Regions from separate parts of the Homo sapiens genome. Here regions 2 and 3 are each linked to region 1. The links are contacts of gene promoters, found by promoter capture Hi-C in blood cells and fetal thymus (Javierre and others, 2016). All regions are on one chromosome and are shown on one strand. The core of a region is centred on a gene start or on the middle of the fragment in contact, and the rest is flanking DNA. Distances in the headings are between cores, read along the strand shown.

Region 1 (2,563 bases), core at 28-2,527:
TCGGGGTTCCAGAGGCCGTCCCTCAAGCACCACCGCTCCCCCAGTCAGGGATGGGGGCAAGGTGTCTCAGAGCCGACCAGCCTCGGGCGGAGTCGGGGGGTTAAGCCCCAAGGAGGGGCACCCCGCCAGGCAAAAGAATGGACCAGATAGACGGCAGGGTCCAGCCTCAAGCTGCCACCCTGGCTCCGTAGGGAAAGCACTGCAGGTCCTACGCAAGCGCGCCGCCTGCGTCTAGCCGCTTTGTTCTAGCGCTACCTGCGGGTCCATTCACCTCCGCTGCCCCGCCTGCCTGCAAATCGACACACAGGGCGGGCGGAGGCCCCGCCCACTTCCCCGCCCTGGGTGGAAACCGCGGCGGGCCCCGCCTCCCTCCGCCACCGCCTCTTTCGGCCAGGATTGGCCATCTGCATGGCAGGCGCCCGCCTACCGCGGAAGTTGATTGGTCCGTTGAGAGGGAGGCAGGGGAAGGAAAGCTGATTATAAAGGAGCATTCCCCTCCCACCGGCCCCGTGGAAAAAGTCACGTGGCGCTTCACTGGGCGCCTGTCACCACCCCGCTTGTAAAGCTTTCTTAAAGGGCTCGCGATCCCTTCCCAAAGCTGGTCCTTTCTAGGATTTCTCCACACCTGCCCACGGAAGGTGGCACGGCCCTGAGTCTTCCTACCCCGCCAGTTGCCCAGGTCCTGATTTCCCATCAGGCCTGCTGGCGTGAGACGCTCTCCCTCAGGTCTGGAGCCTGTGACCGTCAGGGGAACGATGAGGTCCTCTGAAACGGTGACCGCCTAGCACAGTGCCTGGCACGTAGTAGGCGTTCAGTTCTCATTTGTTGAATGAACTCGATGACAGAAAAAATGAATGGGATGACAGGCGGGAGGAGGAGAGGTTGCTCAGCTTGACCATCCCCCCCACCACGCCCCGTCCCAGGAAAACTATGCTGTTGTGAATGTGGGGTGGGGGTGCCAGGCATAGGACGCCCCCAGGGCCTCTCTTCCCGCAGTGTCCAGAAGAGCTTGGGAGCACGCGCAGAGTGAACCCATGAGGGCGTCTAGGCCGGGGTCCCTAGGCGGATCGTAGTCAGCTCCGAGCTAGTCCAGGGGGCAACGGTGCGGAGGCGGTGGGGGAGGGCCCCGCCGCTGGTCTCCCGGGCTCGGGTCGCGAGCGCGCCCGCATACCCCGTGGGGAGGGGCGGTGGAGGCGCTGCGCCTTTAAGCCCGGGCGCCGGCCCCCGCGGCCCCGCCCCCCGGAGAACGCCTCGGCGCGCGGCCGCCGGAGCCGCCGTTTAATTGGGGCTGTCAGGCCGCGGTGCGCGCGGAGGGCCGGGCGGGCGGGCGGGACGGAGGCCGGGAGGCCGGGAGGCCGGGGCGGCGGGCGCGCAGCTCGGCGGGAGGCGGGCGCCCGGAGACGCGGCTGGGGCCCGCGCGGCCGGGGCGCCGTCCCAGGGCAGGGCTGCCCGGCCCCGGCCCCGGGCCGCCCGCGCTCCCCATGAAAAACCAGCTCCGCGGCCCCCCAGCGCGGGCGCACATGTCGACTTCGGGGGCGGCGGCGGCTGGGGGCACCCGGGCGGGGTCCGAGCCCGGTGCGGGGTCGGGGTCCGGCGCAGGCACCGGGGCGGGCGCGGCGACGGGGGCAGGGGCCATGCCCTGCAAGAGCGCCGAGTGGCTGCAGGAGGAGCTGGAGGCGCGCGGCGGCGCGTCCTTGCTGCTGCTCGACTGCCGGCCGCACGAGCTCTTCGAGTCGTCGCACATCGAGACGGCCATCAACCTGGCCATCCCGGGCCTCATGTTGCGCCGCCTGCGCAAGGGCAACCTGCCCATCCGCTCCATCATCCCCAACCACGCCGACAAGGAGCGCTTCGCCACGCGCTGCAAGGCGGCCACCGTGCTGCTCTACGACGAGGCCACGGCCGAGTGGCAGCCCGAGCCCGGCGCTCCCGCCTCCGTGCTCGGCCTGCTCCTACAGAAGCTGCGCGACGACGGCTGCCAGGCCTACTACCTCCAAGGTGAGGGCGGCACCGAGACGCCTTACGGGATCGGGGCCCCCCCGCGACTCCCTGACGCCCCCCTTGGAGGCGCTTTCCTCTCCACGCGCTCGGCCTGCCCCTCTGGGCGCCACGTCGTCCCCGGCCCGCATCCGCCCTCCTGGAGCCGGGTCCCCACTGTGTGGTTTGGCAGGCGCGGGGCTCCCTCTGCGCCCCCTTTCTCGGCACGATTCGAGTGGGTGGAACAAACTTTCCCCTGCCTGGGGTTTCCTTTTTTTTCCTGTTGATGGGGCGACAGTAGTGCCTGGGCTCCAGTGGAGCCCCTCAGAGGTGGAAGGCGCCGCCTCCCAGAACCCTAAAAGCGGCAGGGCGCCCAAGTCCAGCCTAGAATTCGTGTTTCTGGAAGGCCAGGATCAGGAAGGGCACCTTTCATAGCACCATCCTCACCTCCAGCGCATGGAGACCATTTGGGTTGGGGTCTCCTGGATCCGGGAATTGCTTCTTCCACCGGAGAATTGCCGCCTCTAGGAGGCGCTTGGGGCAGGGTATGGGCAGGCTCCATTGCCCTGGCCCGGGTCTCTCGGGA
Region 2 (2,563 bases), core at 30-2,529, 60 kb before region 1:
CATTTTCCCTCTATTCTTGGCTGAGTTGTGCATGAGGAGGGATTTCAGGGCTTGTGGCTGGGGAACCTTCTCTACTTAGAAGGTTGCAGATGAAGGATTCCAGGCCATGCTCTGGGCTGAGGGTGGACAGAAGCTCCATGTTCAGCCTTGTGACATGCTACAAGGCTGGGGGAAGGTTGGAAGAGCCACTTGCAGGCAAATGAGCACCTCCCAGAGGGGCTTGAGGGTGGGCAAGGGATGGGAGCCCCTGGGAATTGTCTGCATTGGGTGCCCGTGCTCGTGTTTTCAAGGGTCTAGTGCTTAGCTCTGTTCCTGCCACAGCCCTGGCCCCTCTATTCTTGTCCACCCTCTTGCTGTCTGTTCTTTGGGGCCTGACCCCGAGGCATAAAGACCCCTGTATCTTGGCTGATCTTGAATTTAACACCTCCCAAACCCCTGCCACTATAGGACGGACTTCTGCTCAACCACAGAAGCATTTTTTAACCACTTTTTAAATAGCAAAAATGCATTTGCTTGATTGACTTATTTTTGCCCTCCTTCCAAATGTCTGAGGGCCCATTATGCAATGGGGAAGAAAGGTTGCGCTGGGTGGGGTGGGAGGAGAACACAGAGTTCTAGGTAATTCAGTGAAACGGGAGGAAAAAAAAACCCACTTTCTGAGTTCTAAGGGTTGGCTGCTGTCCGGTTCACACATTAACCTTGAGTTCTAGGGCTGAGTGCTTTTCTCCACTCACCTCTCAAGATCTCATTTTAAGGAGGAAAGCTCATCTGTGGTTAAGAGCCTGGGTTCTAGCTTCCAGCCAACCTGTGATTAAATCCTTTCTCTACCCTGCCTGGGGTGTGGTCCTAGGAAAGTGGCCAGACGTCTGTGAGGCACGGTTTTCTCTTCTGTCGTTTGGGGAGAGGCTGGGCCCTCCTTCGTGGGATTTCATGCGTGGTGCATCTGCCTGGCACATGACAAGTGCTCATCAAGCTTTAGCTATTTTTTTTGAGTCAGGGTCTCACTCTGTCACCCAGGCTGAACTACAGTGGCGCAATTGTGGCTCACTGCAGCTTCAACCTCCCAGGCTGAAGCGATCCTCCTGTCTCAGCCTCCTGAGTAGCTGGGACTATAGGCGTGTGCCCCCACACCCAGCTAATTTTTTTTTTTTTTTTGAGACAGAGTCTTGTGCTGTCACCCAGGCTGGAGTGCAGTGGCACAATCTTGGCTCACTATAATCTCTGCCTCCTGGATTCAAGAGATTCTTGTGCCTCAGCCTCCCGAGTAGCTGGGAATACAAGCGTGCACCTCCACGCCTGGCTAAATTTTGTATTTTTAGTAGAGATGGGATTTCACCATGTTGGCCAGGCTGGTCTCGAACTCGAGAGCTCAGGTGATCCACCTGCGTTGGCCTCCCAAAGGGCTAGGATTACAGGTGTGAGCCACCGCACCTGGCCTAATTTTTTAAATTTTTTGTAGAGAAAGGGTCTCCCTGTCTTGTCTAGGCTGGTCTCAAATTCCTGGGCTCAAGCAGTTCTCCTGCCTCTGCCTCCCAAAGCATTGGGATTATAGGTGTGAACTACCACGCCTGCCCCACCAAGCTTTAGCTACTTTAAAAAGGGTTCTTTTCCCCTCCCTGACTGAAAGCCAATCCAGGAGATTATGTGTTCAAAACTTGCTGGGGTGAGGGACAGTGGGCAATAATGGGAGCACTTATAATTTTCCACGTTGACCCCTCTCTGCAGGTCATCGTAGTGAGGGCCAGTGAGGTTTCTAGACCCTTGCAGGCATCAAAATTGTGTTTCCTGATGGCAGACCCAAGTCCCCTGTGCTCCCAGATGAGAGAGCAGATCTGTGAGTGGGTGGAAACAGACTTGTCCTTCTGCCACAGGATTCCTCAGGACAAGATGCCCAGGATCCCCAGAGCCTCAGTGCTTGAACTGTCCTCTGGAAGAGGGAGCTGGGTCAGTTGAGAACATCTGAACTGAGCCTCATCCGTGCCGAAGGATGGTCTATTTCTTCTTCCTAGTTCCTCTGATACTGAGAGTAAAGCACCAGCCACCTCCTGTGCTTGTCCTTAACCTCCCACATTTCCATTTTTGGGGCACTGCCACAGGGGTGGGCTTCACTTAGGGATTTGTGGGACCCTGATTCCTGGCCCAGAGATTCTTGGCACTAGATCTTCCCTTATGCTTTGGATCTGGGGGTCCTGGGTGCCTGTGGATTTTTAAGATCTGGGTTCTCACTCCAGGTGCCTTGCCTGAGGAATTAGAGAGTTGGAGAAACAGGGAGAGGAGACCCATTTCCACCTCATCTGCCTCATAGATTTTTTAAAATTATTTGTATACATTTCAGAAGTACAAGTGCAGTTTTGTTACCTGGTATATTGTGTAGGGGTGAAGTCTGGGCTTTTAGTGTAATCATCACCCAAATAATGTACATTATACTGGTTAAGTATTTTCTCATCCCTTGCCTCATAGATTATGTGTTAGTCTGCTCAGGATGCTATAACAAAATACCATAGACTAGGTAGATTATAAATATAGAAATTTTATTTCTCACAGTTCTGGAGGCTGGGAAGTC
Region 3 (2,563 bases), core at 35-2,534, 37 kb before region 1:
CTGGAGATGGGGCTTTCTCTAGCTGAGATGTTCCAGCCACAGCCAGAGCTATCTCCACCAGGGGGTTGAAAGTTTCCCTGTGCCTTTCTCTTGGCATTGGCCCAGCAGAGGCAGGCCCACAGCAGGCCCCGCTCTGGATGGTCCAGACTGACCCAGCCCTCCCCTGAAGCTTAGTGCCAGGCGGCCACCACCATCCATCTTCCCAAGCGGCTTGTTCAGCTGGGCTTCCTACTTGGTCTGTGGATATTGGTCTCGGGTGCCACCCCATCAGCAAGCACTCCTTGCCATCTGCCCAGTCCTGAAGAGCCTTTGTGTTCTGGAGGGGTAGGATGCCCAGCCACCCCAACACTGATTCCTACTACAAAGTCATCCATGTGAATTGTGCTGTTCTCCTCTGTTGCCTCCACCATCCCTTCCCTCCCCCACAGGGAAGTCTACTTCAGAGTGGCCTTTGAGAGGGAAGCTGCCTTCTGGGTCCTTCAGGCCTCCATCCTGCAGAACATCCTTCTAGGGGAGAGCCATGGGGATGCAGCGGGCCGTAGCCAGGGATGTTTTCTGAGTGAGTCACAGAGTCTCCAGCCCCTGGGTAGGACACCCTATTTCAGAGGCTCACAGTCTTCAAAGCCTGCCTTCCTGTTCAACAGGCTGGTATGGCCCCATGTGGCGAGGTCACCTCTGTGGATGTTTGTGGCCTGTCTGGCACCAGTCTGAGGGTCAGGGACCCAATCTCAGTCCTCCCCAGGGTGACCCCTTCAGCGGCTCCTCTGTGTAAAGGAAAGGCCTGGAAGCCAGGAAGCTGAGTGAGCCAATGGAGAGGAGTGGCTCAGGTTTTGTCTGGCTTCCCCATTGCCTAGCTCAGTGACCTTGGGCAAGTCACTTTGAGTCTGTGTGCCTTACTTTCCAAATCTGGAACACAGAGCTGATAATAATACCCACTTCATAGGCCTCTTGGGAAGCTCCTTGAATAGTACCTGACAACGCCGTGCACTGCTGATGTGTTGGGTGCTGCTCCTGTTGCTGCCATTGTCGTTATCCAAGGCTTGGGGGCCAGGGGGATCTGCATGACAGCACCAGAAATAGCTCTCCCAATTTTCCACTGCCTCATGAAGCTAGACCCTTCCCTACCCAGGAGAGCCATTCCTTGGCCCTCAGAGCAGAGGTGGCAGGTTCCTTCCATGCACACACATTCACTGAGCCCACTCTGTGTGGTGGGCCCTGTGTGAGACCCAGTCCCACCTTCAGGAAGAACTCAGGACTGAATCTGCCAAGGTCAGAGCCAGGCCTCCCCAGAGGAGCTGGCAACTGGAATAACTGGAAACAAGTGGGAGTCCAGACACCGGGTCAAGGCCATGGGTCCTCTGGTGTGGGGTAACAGAAGCAGCAGCCCAGGAGTTCACCCTCACCTGACGGGACACTAGGCAAAGTCGAGGCCTGACCCATGCTGAGGGTCTGGGGTAGAGTGGAGATGGGGACACAGAGAAGTTGAGACGCGAGCAAGGGCAGTGCTATCATGGCTCCATCCCAGGGGCGATGAGACAAACAGCACTTTGGCTGGCCCCTGCAAGGCTCCTGGTCTCCGGAGCAAGCCAGCAAGTGGGGCAGCTTCCCCCAGCCTTCCCAGGCCAAGAGGCCTTTCAGATGAAGAGGAAACCAAACTGCCCTTGGGACTTGCACAGCATCAGAAACCCTTTAACTCCAGAAATGGGGTTGGTGTTTTACTTTTTTATGAAAGCCTTTTTTATAAAATCCATACATTATTTTTCAAAAGTGTATTTATATGGGGAAAATAGACTTTGGGGTGACCTTGTGAGCCGAGCAGGTGCAGTCTTCAGGCCTCCCCACGTAGTTGTTTTAGATGAAAAGTCCTCAGAGTGTGGGGATCACATACTCATCATAGTTTTCATCCTCCTGGTTTTTATCTGAGGCCTGCCACTTTCCAAGGACTTCCCTTTGTGGACCTCACTTTATCCTCCCACCTGGCACATGGCAGCAACATCATGCCAGGTGCAGATAATGTGTTAATAATGGCTTGTTGTGCCTGGACCAGCCTCGGGGTCCAGCCAGCCTGGGGCTTCTCCAGGAGGCCAGGTGATCCTGATCTCAACCACTGTGGGCCAGAGCATCCCTAGCTTCCCTTGCCAAACAGTTTTGGTGCAGTTAGGGATGGCTTCATCAAGAAATTCTGCAAACCAAACTTGACCTCCCTGAAAGGTAAGGCCAGAAGCTCTTGCCCAGGGCTCTGTGATCAGAGAGCCCAGCAGGCCGAGTCCCTTAGGTCACCAGCCAAAGAGCAGACACATCCTTGCCCTGGCCTGCCCCTGTGTGGGGATGACCCCTCCTTGCCCCAGTAAACACTGAGCTTGCTGTTTGGGGCATCACTGGTTTCTTCGCTAAGCTTCTCTGGGCCCTGATCCCAGCTGATGCCATGCTTTGAGCAGCTGGGGTTTGTTCAGCTTTACACATCCCCACCAGCTGTGGGGAGCAACTGTTCCTCCTTGAGTTTCAGGGCTGCTCTGTTCACCCAGTGAGCCACCTGCCTGTCAGCCTGGGCACACCTCCACCA

What was found. Contacts are between HindIII fragments. The CHiCAGO score rates a contact against its expected background, and 5 or more counts as called.
Region 2: a fragment that was not itself captured here is called in contact with the fragment with the promoter of DUSP7 in region 1 in 3 of 17 cell types (M0 macrophages, endothelial precursors and megakaryocytes); the score reaches 7.8 in M0 macrophages.
Region 3: a fragment that was not itself captured here is called in contact with the fragment with the promoter of DUSP7 in region 1 in 1 of 17 cell types (endothelial precursors); the score reaches 6.7 in endothelial precursors.

What each region holds. Positions count from the first base shown.
Region 1 is chr3:52,055,285-52,057,847 of GRCh38, reverse strand. It overlaps DUSP7 (dual specificity phosphatase 7), which reads left to right and starts at 1,277. Exons shown (of 3, transcript NM_001947.4): 1 at 1,277-1,998. The coding sequence starts at 1,482. RefSeq lists silencers at 217-576, 977-1,356, 1,557-1,616, 1,937-1,986. The HindIII fragment of the contact is 7,722 bases long and covers 568-2,563 here.
Region 2 is chr3:52,115,780-52,118,342 of GRCh38, reverse strand. All of the region lies in intron 9 of POC1A (POC1 centriolar protein A), which reads left to right. Among named protein-coding and RNA genes, the nearest start is that of POC1A, 37 kb to the left of the region's middle. The HindIII fragment of the contact is 608 bases long and covers 976-1,583 here.
Region 3 is chr3:52,091,948-52,094,510 of GRCh38, reverse strand. All of the region lies in intron 10 of POC1A (POC1 centriolar protein A), which reads left to right. Among named protein-coding and RNA genes, the nearest start is that of LINC00696, 28 kb to the right of the region's middle. The HindIII fragment of the contact is 2,226 bases long and covers 172-2,397 here.